Regions from separate parts of the Homo sapiens genome. Here regions 1 and 2 are each linked to region 3. The links are contacts of gene promoters, found by promoter capture Hi-C in human tissues and cell types (Jung and others, 2019). All regions are on one chromosome and are shown on one strand. Each heading gives the region's core, a stretch centred on a gene start or on the middle of the fragment in contact. The rest is flanking DNA. Distances are from core to core; before and after follow the strand shown.

Region 1 (4,516 bases), core at 1,423-3,922, 1.0 Mb before region 3:
TTAGAGAATTAACCAGAAATGAGAATTAGAAATCAGAATTAGAGAATTTCAGTAATTTGCCCAGAACCACCCTGAGAGTTGGTAAAAGGGCAAATGTTTGAACCCTTGTACTTCCTCTGTGAAGTGGAAACTAGAAAAACTGCGCATTGTTCAAAAGACACAACAGGATCCACACAGAACTGGGATTCCAAGCACATGCCAAGAATGATAGAGTCCAATTTCACACGATATGGATGGGAGAGAATTCCTAACGAGAGGTCGTCAGCATAAAAACAGGAGGCCTATATTCCAAAAGTGAACTTCTGAAGAGATTTGAAATATCAAAGAGAAAGGAAAAAATATAAAATAATAACAAGATTTTCTTAAAAATACAATTTCGTGTTTTAAAAAATCAGATATTTTACACATTATATAAATTGAATAAAGTATTAGTGGGCTTAGTAAATTAGTGGACTTAGTTAACTGAGATATAGACAAGAGGAAATGACTGAATATAGAGACCAGTGAGGAAAAGAGATAGAAAATATGAAAGAGAATTTGAAAAGTGGAGGAGAGAAGCCAAGGCTCCAGCCATTATCTATTCGAAGTTCAAAGCAGGGAATTGAGACAATGGTTAAGATGCAATCTTCTAAATAAATTTGATGAGAGTTTTCTAGAATTAAAGAAAGATGTGAGTGCTCAGACTGAAGATTTATATTAAGTTTCAAGCAGCACGAATAAAAGCAAATTCCCACTTAGACACACTGCGGTACAGAGTTGAACCATCCAAAACAGAGGAACACTGCAGGTTACTTGCAAAGGAACAAGACAACAGATTTGTCTCTGGCATTGGTAAATGTCAGGTGGCAATGCAATCATTGTAAGGAAAAACAAAGGCAATTTCAGACATGAAAGACTGAGTTTACCGCTCACAGAGGCTTGCTGAAAATTCTCCCCAAAGATGTGCTTCAACAATGAAAAACCCAGAAGAAGAAATAGATAGAAAGTAATTGTATACATAGAAGTTGGTAAAACTTGTTACATTTAGATTGGTATTGATTGGAATTGAAAAGAAACCTTAAGACAATTTTGGTGAAACTTTTAGAAAAATGAATATTAAATTCTACATCTCAAAAATATGGAAGATGAGAAGAGTATAGAATTGTATTGTTTGGGAAGATGACAAAGATACTGAGCCACTTTAGTCTTTCCAAAGATAAGCATGCATGTTGACCATTTCAGGGTAAATATAAAAGTATACTGCTTTAATTTCAAACCGGAGAAAGCCAGTATGGGAATTAAGAATTAAGGAAATGCAATCTATACAACAGTGGGCAGAGGAAGGAGAAATAGAAAACAAAGTAAAAATATGAAAAATTAGAACCCACAAAACCAGGTCATAGAAACTATATTATTTTACAATATTAATAAAAAAGAAAATAAGTCAGTCTTATTTTAAGACAGAAACTTTCAGCATAAATAACAATAAACCATCTTTGTGAACAGTATGAAGAACCTATATTTTATCAATAAGAGGACAATATAAAAAATTGTAGTACATTTGTAAGATAAAGTAGTATATAGTATTGGGACTCAGAAAACAATAACCCAAAATGAAGTCCTCAGAAACAAATGTTTTTCCCTGTCTCCTGCCCACCTATCTCAGTCTCATTCTCCCCTGAGGCCAGCCATAGAAACTGGAATCCCTCTTCCACAAAGCAGGTTATAGAAACCAGAATCCCTTTTGCCCTATGCCAGCCATAAAACCTAAAATATTATTCCAGCTTTGCCCCCTCAATTCCATGCAAAACTGGCAATAAAGACACTCTCCGACCGACTTTGACTGCAGGTCATGAGACCCCATTGCAGAGAGGGCCCTGCCCCACACCAGAGGGGAGGGATGATGCCCAGAGAGGCCAGGAAGAATCTGCATGTCAGGCCTTGCTGGGTGCCCCCACTCAGTGTCTCAGTCCACCCAGTGTCTCAGCACTAGATCACACCCTTTTTGTTTAATCCTATTTCCACACAGCTGTCCATACGTTGTTGAACCTAAGCATAAAAATGGACAATTTCCCCTGCATCTCTGGGTCCGCAGTCTGAAGACTCCACTAAGATCAAATAAATTTGCCTGTCTTTTCTCCTATTAGTCTCCTTCGTGAGTTGATTTTTCAGCAAACCTGCAGAGCATAAAGGGGAAGCTTTCCCCTGGCCTCGACAACAGGATGGCCTGGGTCTATGACACCCACATAGACAGGCCCTGGAAATAAGTTAGAGAGAAAAAGGTGAGCTGAGAATGGCACACATGACATGCCTCCTCAGTGAATAAAATCCCGACTCCCGAAAGCGGCCTGCGTGGCATCAGGGGATCCCTGCTGTCTCCAACTCTGCAAACATCTTCTCTTGCCCATCTCCCCCTCAATCAATGTGAGCTGTTTACAACTGTCTTTCTTCTAGCAACCTGACCCTGTGTTCATAGCAGGTCCCTGCACTCTGCCTCAAGGGCTCTTCCTCCAGATCTGCACACAATTTGCTTTGGAACTTTCTGAGATCTCTGCTCACAATCACCTTTTTGGAGAGGTTCTCCTCACCACTGTCTCCAAAATGTCAGCCTCTGTTGTGCTCTGTCTCCTCATCCCTTCCCATGGCCTTCAATTACTTATTTACTATGTCCATCCTTCCCAGGTCAGTCTTTTCCATTCGCATGCAGGCTTCATAGGGACAGAGCCTGCCACAGACCGGTGCTCAATGAATTCGATCCGTTGGATGAATGAATGCATATGATGTTTTATTATGTGTTAATAACCATAGGTTTGATCTTGTTTAGAGATGCGGACATATGTAGGGAAGAGTGAGAAGGAAAATAGCAGAGCTTCTTTCCCTTTTCCTCCATCACAGGGTCTCTCTAATGACAGAGGATACAGAACCCTCCACAGAGTCATGAAGGGTTCTAAGCCATCCAAGGTTACACGGCCTCTGAAATGGCCTTCAAAAAAATTATGTCCATGAGAAAATTATGGCAGTAAGGGAGGTCTGATCTTGCCAACGCCTCCTTTTGCCTCTAGCTTTCCAGTTGCCTTAATTATTCCTGGGCCTAGGTAAATTTGGAAGACAATTAGGTTATAATTTAAATGATAACAGCCTTTCCTCAGAACTCAACCATCTTTGTAAAGCTAATGAGAGACCATTGGGCTAGTGGGAGAAAAAGAGCTTAAATTCTGCTAAGGTATAGACTGGTCACAAGATAAACAACTTCCCCAATTACTCCTGCAGATACCATCACTATAGTAGACTGGACTTTTGAAATGGCTTTTCAGGTTTTTTGCATGTCTGACACAGATGGCTCCAACTGGACCTGCCAAACCACCCATGTAGCACCCACCACTCAGGAGCAATTCAGCTCAAGAGGCAGCTTCAACTGCTTACGAGTTCATCTCCACCCCAACCAATTAGCAGCAAACATCCATTTCCTAGCCACCGCTGCCCCTTCTAAACTGCCTTTGAAAAACCCTTAACCTATGAGAGCCTTCAAAGAGATTGATTTAGGTAATAACTCTGTCTCCCACATGGCCTGGCCAGTCTCACATCAATTAAACTCTTTCTTTACTGTAATAATGTGGTCTGTCTTTGTGCAGCAAGCAGGAAAAACCCATTGGGCAGTTAAACCTCTTTCCCTGGTAATAACAGAAACCCCTCCTTTGGATTGGCAGGACACACCTGTTAGCCTGAGATAACACTCCTAGTTGTCCACAGTGTGAGTGGAATGTGTGGGGTTCCATGTGCCCTGGTGATCAAAGCAGGGGTGCTGAGAGGACAGTGAGCCCTCAGGGTATGACCAGGAGCTTGTGGAAAAGAGAAACGTGGGAGCCAGAGGCAGACGCCAGACAGGATCAGTGGCACATCACCACAGGCCAATCTACTGACAAGAGCAGCCTCTGTGGCTCAGGCCACCGATGACCAGAGCCCCTAAGGCAGACTGTATTATGCAAAAGTGGCCACAGGGATATTTCCCATTCCACATGCTCTTGCAAAGGGATCTTGACAATATTTGCACTGAGCATTCTGAATTATGTTCCCTTCCTTTGAATCTGAGTGAGCCTGTAACTTGCCTGTAACCTGGACAGTGCAGCAGAAGTAACTTGTGTGCTTCCCTGGGCTGGGTCCAGAAAGGTGATGACCACGGGGATACTTGCTTTTGAAGAGCTCGGTTTTCATGGAAACAGATTTCTGCCTTCAAGCACCTTCCCCATTAGCTGGGGAGGAAGCCCTAACTAATCCATGCAGAGAGATCAGATAGAGGTGCCTGGGTGCCTGGCCAGGACGTAGCCATTCCTTTCCTGTGGTCTCAGCTTCAGCCACCACCTGTGGGCAATTCATTGAGAAACCACAAGCCAGAGGAGCTCTTCCGTCTTCAAAGCGCAGATGCTATGAGACACAATACAGTCACTGTTGCTTTACTCACCACATTTTAGAGTGACTCGTTAGCAGCATTAGTGACTGGAATAGGCTCCCCTGGGCATAGTTACAGGGAAGGTTAGGC
Region 2 (4,457 bases), core at 1,320-3,819, 1.7 Mb before region 3:
ATTTCATGAAATATGAAAGCTTCTGTATAACAAAGGAAACAACAGAAACAACCTACAAATTAGGAGAAAATATTTGCAAGCCACATATCTGATAAGAAGCTAATATCCAAAATGCATGCGGAACTCAAACAACTCTAGAAAACAAATAAGACTAATTTAAAAAATGGGCATAGGACCTGAATAAACATTTTTCAGGAGAAGATATACAAATTACCTACAAATATATGTAAAAAGAAAAAACTCAATATCACTAATCATTAGGGAAATGCAAGTTAAAACCACAATGAGACAGCACCTCACACCTCTCAACATGGCTATTTAAAAAAAAAGAGAGAAGGGATTAAAAAGTTTTGGTGAGAATGTGGAGAAAAGAGAACTTTTGTACTCTGTTCTTGGGAATGTAAATTAGTACAACTTTTATGGAAAACTGTATGGAGGTTCCTCAAAAAACTAAAAATAGAATTACCATATGACCTGGCAATCCCGCTTGTGTGTATTGACACAAAACCCATATCTATGCCAGAGAGATGTCTGCACTCCCGTGTTCATTGCAGCTCTGTTCACAATAGCCAAGTTACGGTATCAACTTAAGTGACCATCAGATGATTGGATAAATAAAACATGGTCTATACACATACAATGAAATTCTATTCAGCCTTATAAGAGAAAGAAGCTTGGTCGTTTGCAACAACCTAGGTCAATTAAGCCTCCAGGCATATGAGGTCCATTGTTGTGAGTTTATATGTGTCCTGAAGGGTCCTGAATCCCTTCGTAGGGAACTCTGGTCTTTAAAGTTCCAGGTGAGGTCTAAGATTTTCTGGTGGTTTTGACATATAGAATCATAAACTTTTATAGCTAAAGGAATCTTTTCTTATATTTCATTTATTCTTTTTCCCCTAGTTTATAGATTAGATCTAAAGAGGTCCCTTGACTTGCCTGAAGCAATGCCTCTGGTTAATGATGAACCAGTATTGGAACCCAAGTCTCCAAATTATTAGTCAGCTCAGTGCTTTTGCACTGAACTCTGCTACATCTGAAAGATGCCTTGTTCCTCATGTTCAGTAAAGAATGGTCTACAGATTAGACAAAATCGACACATTTATAAACAAAAATAGCAACACCAACAAACAAAAATATTTTGCTGCCCAGAGACGGGTGGGCCCTGTTAGTGCTGTTTGGTTTAGGATACCTTGGGCTTGTACTAGAGGTGAAGTAACTCACCCCTCGACAGGAGCAAGACCTTTTGAAACACCAGTCTGTAAAGAGTAAGATCTACCCAGCTTAGCTGCCAGAATCATCACTTCCATTGTCAGTTGAGTTCCTCTGGTCTAGACAGTCATCTTATAAATTCCTTAACCAGCTTTTAAAAGGCCATAAAAGGATTAGTAGATAGAATGAATGAACCTAGATGTAGAACGAGAATTATATATGCATACATTTTTTTCATACAGGAAACAAACATTAATGATCAACAAACTAAATGTACATTATAGTTATGGTAAAATGTTAATATTCAACAAACTAAATATATTTTACATTGTGGCTATGCTATTAACTCTGAATCTTCCTTACTTTGTAATTCATGAAAATCAGAGCCAGAACTGGAGAACAGAGGTCTCTGAGGTGTCTCATTTGAGTTATCTTTCTTCGTCATCTAGATTGCATGTTGCAGGATGACCTTTCTGTTTGTCCTGTGCTGAGCTGTCTAGGATTGGTTGCCCATGTGTATCCTAGTGTTCAATACTAATTGTACAGAATTTTTAGGACTTTCTGAAGGGTTTCAAAGTCTAAATTTAAGTAAAGACAGTTTTTTTTAAAATCAACTTAAGAGGTATATAATTTATATACAACAAAAGGCCTACATTTTAAAGATCAAGTACAGTGTGTTTTGACAAATGTATGTGTTGGTGTACCCAAGGTGTAGAACATTTCTGTAACTCTAGAAGTTCCCTCTTGCCCCTTGTCAGTCAGTCTTCACCAGTAATTTTTCAGCCCCAGAAAACCACCAATTGCTCTGTGTCCCTATAGATTGGTTTTGCTGGTTTTCAAACTTCATATAAGTGGAATCACACAATATGTATTCATTTGTGTCTGATATCTTTTGCTCAGCATAAAAGATGGCATATTTTATCAAATATTTCTAAGGAAGGTGATTTCATACAATGCATCCTAAAAACACAGGTTGGTCATTTTATCTTGTCAATAACCAAACCCTTCTGGCTGCGTGTCTTCCCTACACATCCTCTGAAATAGTGTCTGCTGGGTCTCTTGCCTAAGCAGCCTCTGACATAGTGTCTGCTGGGTGTCTTCTCTAAACAGCCTCTGACATGGTGTCTGCTGGGTGTCTCCTCTGAACAGCCTCTGACATAGTGTCTGCTGGGTGTCTTCTCTAAACAGCCTCTGACATGGTGTCTGCTGGGTGTCTCCTCTGAACAGCCTCTGACATAGCGTCTGCTGGGTCCCTTCTCTAAGCAACCTCTGACATAGTGTCTTCTGGGTCTCTTCTCTGAGCAGCTTCTGACATAGCGTCTGCTGGGTCCCTTCTCTGAGCAGCCTCTGACATAGTGTCTTCTGGGTCTCTTCTCTGAGCAGCCTCTGACATAGTGTCTGCTAGGTCTCTTCTCTGAGCAGCCTCTGACATAGGGTCTGCTGGGTGTCTCCTCTGAACAGCCTCTGACGTAGTGTCTGCTGGGTGTCTTCTCTGAGCAGCCTCTGACATAGTGTCTGCTGGGTCCCTTCTCTGAGCAGCCTCTGACATAGTGTCTGCTGGGTCCCTTCTCTGAGCAGCCTCTGACATAGTGTCTGCTGGGTGTCTCCTCTGAGCAGCCTCTGACATAGTGTCTGCTGGGTGTCTTCTCTGAGCAGCCTCTGACATAGTGTCTGCTGGGTGTCTCCTCTGAACAGGCTCTGACGTAGTGTCTGCTGGGTGTCTCCTCTGAGCAGCCTCTGACGTAGTGTCTGCTGGGTGTCTTCTCTGAGCAGCCTCTGACATAGTGTCTGCTGGGTGTCTCCTCTGAACAGCCTCTGACATAGTGTCTGCTGGGTGTCTCCTCTGAACAGCCTCTGACATAGTGTCTCCTGGATGTCTTCTCTAAGCAGCCTTTGACATAGTGTCTGCTGAAGCTTCAAGGGTTGTTGATTGGGACTAGATGTTCAGAGGTCAACATCAATTTTGAACTAAAAAATGGATTCCCCACCAGAAACTATTCTAGCACTTCCCATATATGATGATTAAACACCCCCTTGGTTGAAACTGTCTCAGCTTTTAATATGCCACCATTTTGTTGCTACTGGTGAGCTTCAGAGCTCTTTTTAAGAAACCTGTCCTTGGTGCCTTTCCCATGACTCCGCTTGTTTACTTCTTTTTTCTTGTCACTCCCATCAATCCCTCAGATATCAGCAATCTCCTGTTGTTATTCCCATTAAGGCCTGTCTTCCATACCTTTCTCTGCTAACAAAACCTTCGTTTTCATGTTCTTATTTCACCACTGCTCCCAGCTATCTCCCACTCTAGACAAGATCGTTGATCGAATCACCCTAAGTTATAGGCTGCAGCTGTGTCCAGCACCGTGTCAGCCACAAAGGGCGAGGAAAACAAGGCCCTTGTTCTCAGCAAGTCCACAGGGTGCTGGGGGATAGGCATACAACTCTCATTGACAATTGTCTTTTCTATTCCCCTTAAGGGTCCCTGTCATGGATTTGAAGACAGATTTGTGGGCCACCAGCCTTGAGTTAGTCATTTGGCCACCACTTCTCCAAGTCCTGTGCTTTCCCCTGCATGACTGTGGACCCCCAGTCGCTTTGCTAGTAGTTGTGGTCTGGAATTAAGGATATACACCCCCTCACAGCCATTGTGATAGCACTGCATGAAACTGGGGTAGGGCGGGCATGTGTGACTATACGGCAGGTGTCACTTCTCCTAGTGAACCCCAGCGTCCTGTCTCAGGGTCACCATCATTCACAGTTATGTAAAGAAGCCAGAGGAATTGCAGTGCACTTAAGTAAACTTAAAAATCATCTCCTAATTATTATTGATCTTCTCATCAGAGACAAGGTGCCCAAGAACTGAATGGGAGGGAGGTGGGCACGCCACCTTATAGCCCAAGAATCATTAGTCAGGACAGCCTATTTATAAAAATAGCTTGCTAAGAGGAGTTTTAAAGACCACAGAAGAGTACATTTCTTTACTAGTTTTATTTACTAAAAGTGTAAAAATTAGACTTTTAAATCATTTGATTCCAGAGGCACATTTTTTAAAAAATGTAGTTTTTGAGAATTATAAGAGGTATATTAAAAAATTTTAAGTTTGTCTCTTTTTTTTGAAAGCTGAAAATTAATCTAATGCTATTCTTGTCAACCAAAATAGGAGAGAGCTGAGGGACACAGCATGGAAAACATGAAAGAGCTGAGGGACACAGGATGGAGAATATGAAAATAGGAGAGAACCGAGGGACATG
Region 3 (4,543 bases), core at 538-3,037:
CCACTGCACTCCAGCCTGGGCGACAGAGAGAGACTCCATCTCCAAAAAAAAAAAAAAAAAAACAGATTTCAAAGTCTATTGGGAGAATCAGATACATGGTTTTAAAAAATATATAATTTGATATTTAGTCCTTTGCTTTGACTGCTGGAGAGCTCAAATCCAAGTCCGTGACCAACCTTGAGGACTTGTCAGGTATCATTTAAACCACTATTTTGCTTTTATATCTCTGTCTCTTTATTTTTTTTAATTTGCATTTTCCCCTCCATGTTTTTGAGATATTTCTTTTTAAAATCGCTTTCCGTCTCATGTTACATGTCTATAAGTATCACTTGTGTTTTAAATAATTCTACCAGAGCCATCATAGAGGAAGCCACAGCGTTGTCTAGTTATGCAAAGGAGGCTCCTAGAGGGGGCGAATTGCAGCTGAGCCTTGAGACTCCCACGAGGACGCTCAGAAGAAGGCAGCCCAATGCAAGGAAACTGCATATTTTAGAGGTGAGACTGGAAAAATTTGTCTTTTTTTTTTCCTGATATTTCACTAAATTTCCCTTTAGTCCCCCTTATGGGGTCATATACAAGCAGCAAAAGTCAGACAGACACCGACCTGGCACAGTTTCACTCTCTCCTTCTCATGGGTTAGTACAGCCTGAGCTTCCTTTCTCCTTACACGCAAAAGATTCAGGATTTCCTGGAGTTTCTCCTGCAATAGAAACAAACCCTTTCTGGCAAATGAGCAGAGTCCCAGGTCATGAAGGGGCTTTGAAGACCAGTAACTGCGCAGTCCTAGGCCTCTAAAACAAAGGGCAGGCTGGGTGCGGCGCCTCACGCCTGTAATCCCAGCACTTTGGGAGGCCGAGGCAGGCGGATCACCTGAGGTCAGGAGTTCAAGACCAGCCTGGCCAACATGGTGAAACCCCGTCTCTATTAAAAATACAAAAAATTAGCCGGGCGTGGTGGTGGGTGACTGTAGTCCCAGCTACTGGGGAGGCTGAGGCAGGAGAATGGCGTGAACCTGGGAGGCGGAGGTTGCAGTGACTGAGATCGCACTGCTGCACTCCAGCCTGGGCAACAGAGCAAAACTCTGTCTCAAAAACAAAAAAAGGGAAAAAAAAGGGTGTAAACTGGACCCACGCCAGTTTGTGATGTGGTGCTCAGATGGGCCCTCGTGACTGTCCCCCACAGAGGACGTTAGGAAACGTCAGGAAAGCTAACGGAGTTAGCTGCGATGAGTCGTGGGGTTCATGCTGAGCAGCTGTCTTACTCTGTGATGCTCCTCAGCCTCGCTGGAGAGATGCACTCTGTTTGCACCATGGCTCTGGGCTACGAAGGCGCTTCCACCCTGCTCGTCATCGGAGAGCGCCTTGGCAGTGGTGGGCATCCTCCCGTAGCTGCCCTGCTCATCCTCGCTCTGCAGCACCTGGGACCGGAGCTGCCTGGCGATGCTGGCCAGCCTCCCCAGACGCTCGTTTGACTGGAAATGCGGGCCCTCCAAGGTCCTCCAGCACTCAGGACAAGATAAAGGTGTGTTATGTTCCTCCCAGCTCCTGAGGAGACACACCAGACAAAAGCTGTGCCCACACTCGGTGGTCACTGGGCTGCTGAAATAGTCTAAGCAGATGAAACAGGTGAGTTCCTCCCTGAGGTTCTCCATCAGATCTGCTGTAGACATTTTCTCGAGGCTGGATATGCAGCCAGGTTACACCTCTGTTCTGGGATTAGCAAAGCCCTCACTGCCGTCCTACAGTTTTGAGTAACACGCGGGTGACCTGTTCCTATGTTGTTATGACAAGAAACCCTTATCTCTTCTGTGCCTGATTTCACCAGCTGACATACACTGTCCAACACAAAGCCAATTATGACTTAATGTGGAACTCCTGTATACTGGGCTCCTCACCAACCCCAAACTTTGAGACTTATCTCTGTGAAAAGCACACATGCTAGAGGCTGAGGATTCTGGCTTCTAACAGGATTACCATTTTGAGAACTGGTTATTGTACATAAACAGCACTGTGGAACCATGTGAGCATGTGGGTTTTAGGCTGGAAGCTTGGGTGATTTGGTGTAAACCAGTAAAGAGATTTGAGTTTTGATGATCTCTAATAATATCTGAATTGGAAATTTGGTCCAAATCTTTTGGGAACTCCACTAATAAAACCTAGTTGAGAACTGAGAGAAGAAAACTGTAATACATAGTCCTTTTCTCATTAGCCCCTTTTGTTCTGCTTGACCAAAGCCTAAGCTTTTGTTCCTTTATTGGGTACTGTGTACTTTTATTTAATTTTATTCATCCCAACAAAATGAGAGCTCTTCCACTGAAGTATTCCTTGGTGTTAGGCGCACGATGAATTGCCAGAGCTGTTTATTGATCTTCCCTGCACACCCTAGTACTCACCCATCTGCCATCTTGGAAAGCATCTAAAATGACATTCTAATTGGAAGTTGCCTCAAGAGGCTATCCCACTATGGAGCAGATGGAAAGAATTATATTTTAGTATAAATGTAATTTTGCTCACTTATTTTCACCCATTGAAAATTTCCAAACTAGGCCCCTTCAAATCCCTGATTATCAGTTCTTACTGGACAGAAATGAAGTGTGCAGACATTTTTTCGGACATATGAAAAAGTAAATGCCTAGTGTGGAGACTGTGCACAGTGAACTCCGAGATTGGTAACAAATGCCACAAATTCACTGTGTCCCCTGCTCGGGAGTCAGCTCCTGTCCTGGCCTGCCTTCTGCTCACTGCATGCCAGGAAGTTGCACCTCAAAAGCTCTTCCTCAAAGGCCAGCGAGTTTGACCTTCCCACGAACTCATCACGCCATATTTCTGTCTCCGTCCCCTCACTCTCCAGCTTGGCAGCCTTCCACGAGTCGGGTCCATTACTCAGGCTGTTCCGTTCATTGGTTTCTGACTTTCAAGGCTCCAACTGCTACTTCTTTCCCACTTACCTCCAACAGGATGTTGGATGTTTTCTTATCTTGAACTTTGGGAAAAAGAAGTTTTCTGGCTGAGAATGTTTTTTCCTCCACCTTCCTTTCTCCTAGTCAAAACTCACCTTTCTGAAATCATTAATTCAAAATGTTTCAATCCTATACATCCCTTGTAAAGCATACGTGAATTGCTAGGATGAGAATTTAAGCTATGAAAAAATAAGAGCAAAGAGTTATACTACTGTAAAGAGGAAGAGAGGTGGCATCAGGGTGGCATCATGAAACCTCTACCAAGATAGCCTCCAGGATACTAACTTGTCACAGCTTCAGAATATTGCTATGAGTTAGTCTTGTAAGAGTCTTAAAAAAAAAAAGAAAAAAAGTTTGGCCAGGCGCGGTTGCTCACATCTGTAATCCCAGCAGTTTGGGAGGCCGAGGTGGGTGGATCACTTGAGGTCAGGAGTTTAAGACCAGCCTGGCCAACATGGTGAAACTCCGTCTCTACTAAAAATATGAAAATTAGGCCGGGTGCAGTGGTTCATGCCTGTAATCCCAGCACTTTGGGAGGCTGAGGCAGGCAGATCACTTGAGGTCGGGAGTTCGAGACCAGCCTGGCCAACATGGAGAAACTCCGTCTCTACTAAAAATACAAAATTAGCCGGGCATGGTGGCACATGCCTGTAATCCCAGCTAGTCAGGAGGCTGAGACAGAAGAATTGCTTGAACCCAGGAGGTGGAGGTTGCAGTGAGGTGAGATCACGCCATTGCACTCCAGCCTGGGCAACAAAAGCGAAACTCTGTCTCAAAAAAAAAAAAAAAAAAAGTAAAAATAGCTGGGTGTGGTGTTGCACGCCTGTAATCCCAGCTACTTGGGAGGCTGAGGCAGGAGAATCACTTGAACCCAAGAGGTGGAGGTTGCAGTGAGCCAAGATCCCACCACTGCACTCCAGCTTGGGAGACAGAGAAAGATCCCATCTCAAAAAAAAAAAAAAAAAAAAAAAAAGACTACAATAACACTAACTGCCACCACTAGAAAAAGAATTTATGAACTACCATCTCCATTCAGTGTGTTATTTCAACACAACCCCAGGAGGAGTCTTTAACATTTACCAAAATCATTAGAATAAGCCTCACAATACAGTTATAGCACATCACAGAGCCAGTATTCCAATTTGGAATAGGGAGGCTGGCATAGTCTCTGTTCAAGTCACACTGATCTGCTCTATCCCGTTTCCCTCTTCCAGATAATTTTTTTTATTTTATAGGCATCGTAACACAATAACCACGTGTTATTCATTGATGACTACAAGAATTCTTTGCACGTGGCTCGATTTTTCTGTTAATGAGTTATAAATGAATAGAGGAACTATATTATTATGGAATCATAGTCTTATATTTAGCTGGAAGTCAAGAGATCATATAGTCCAACTACCTTCTACAGATGCTGAGGAAAACTGAGGCTAGAATAAATTAAATTCATCTCCTGATACTCACTTACCACATACGCCGGATTAGGACTAGGAAACTGGAGCGCCTACCTCCCAGTCTTTCTCTTTTGTCAACACACTATACTGCATCCACTTGTTGACTTGTGAGTGGGTGAAAATTTCCAGT

What was found. The method cuts DNA at HindIII sites, captures the fragments that hold promoters and counts their contacts. A contact is called where the count stands out against the background at its distance.
Region 1: a contact is called between a fragment that was not itself captured here and the fragment with the promoter of TRIML1 in region 3, in 1 of the 25 tissues and cell types used here (lymphoblastoid cells).
Region 2: a contact is called between a fragment that was not itself captured here and the fragment with the promoter of TRIML1 in region 3, in 1 of the 25 tissues and cell types used here (dorsolateral prefrontal cortex).

What each region holds. Positions count from the first base shown.
Region 1 is chr4:189,177,191-189,181,706 of GRCh38, reverse strand. No RefSeq gene overlaps it. Among named protein-coding and RNA genes, the nearest start is that of LINC02508, 400 kb to the right of the region's middle. RefSeq lists enhancers at 2,565-3,191, 3,192-3,818. The HindIII fragment of the contact is 5,442 bases long and covers 1-4,516 here.
Region 2 is chr4:189,847,198-189,851,654 of GRCh38, reverse strand. All of the region lies in intron 3 of FRG1-DT (FRG1 divergent transcript), which reads left to right. Among named protein-coding and RNA genes, the nearest start is that of LINC01596, 32 kb to the left of the region's middle. RefSeq lists an enhancer at 4,190-4,457. The HindIII fragment of the contact is 4,445 bases long and covers 347-4,457 here.
Region 3 is chr4:188,136,685-188,141,227 of GRCh38, reverse strand. TRIML1 (tripartite motif family like 1) reads right to left here and starts at 1,787. Exons shown (of 6, transcript NM_178556.5): 1 at 1,262-1,787; 2 at 605-700. The coding sequence starts at 1,669. The HindIII fragment of the contact is 25,840 bases long and covers 1-4,543 here.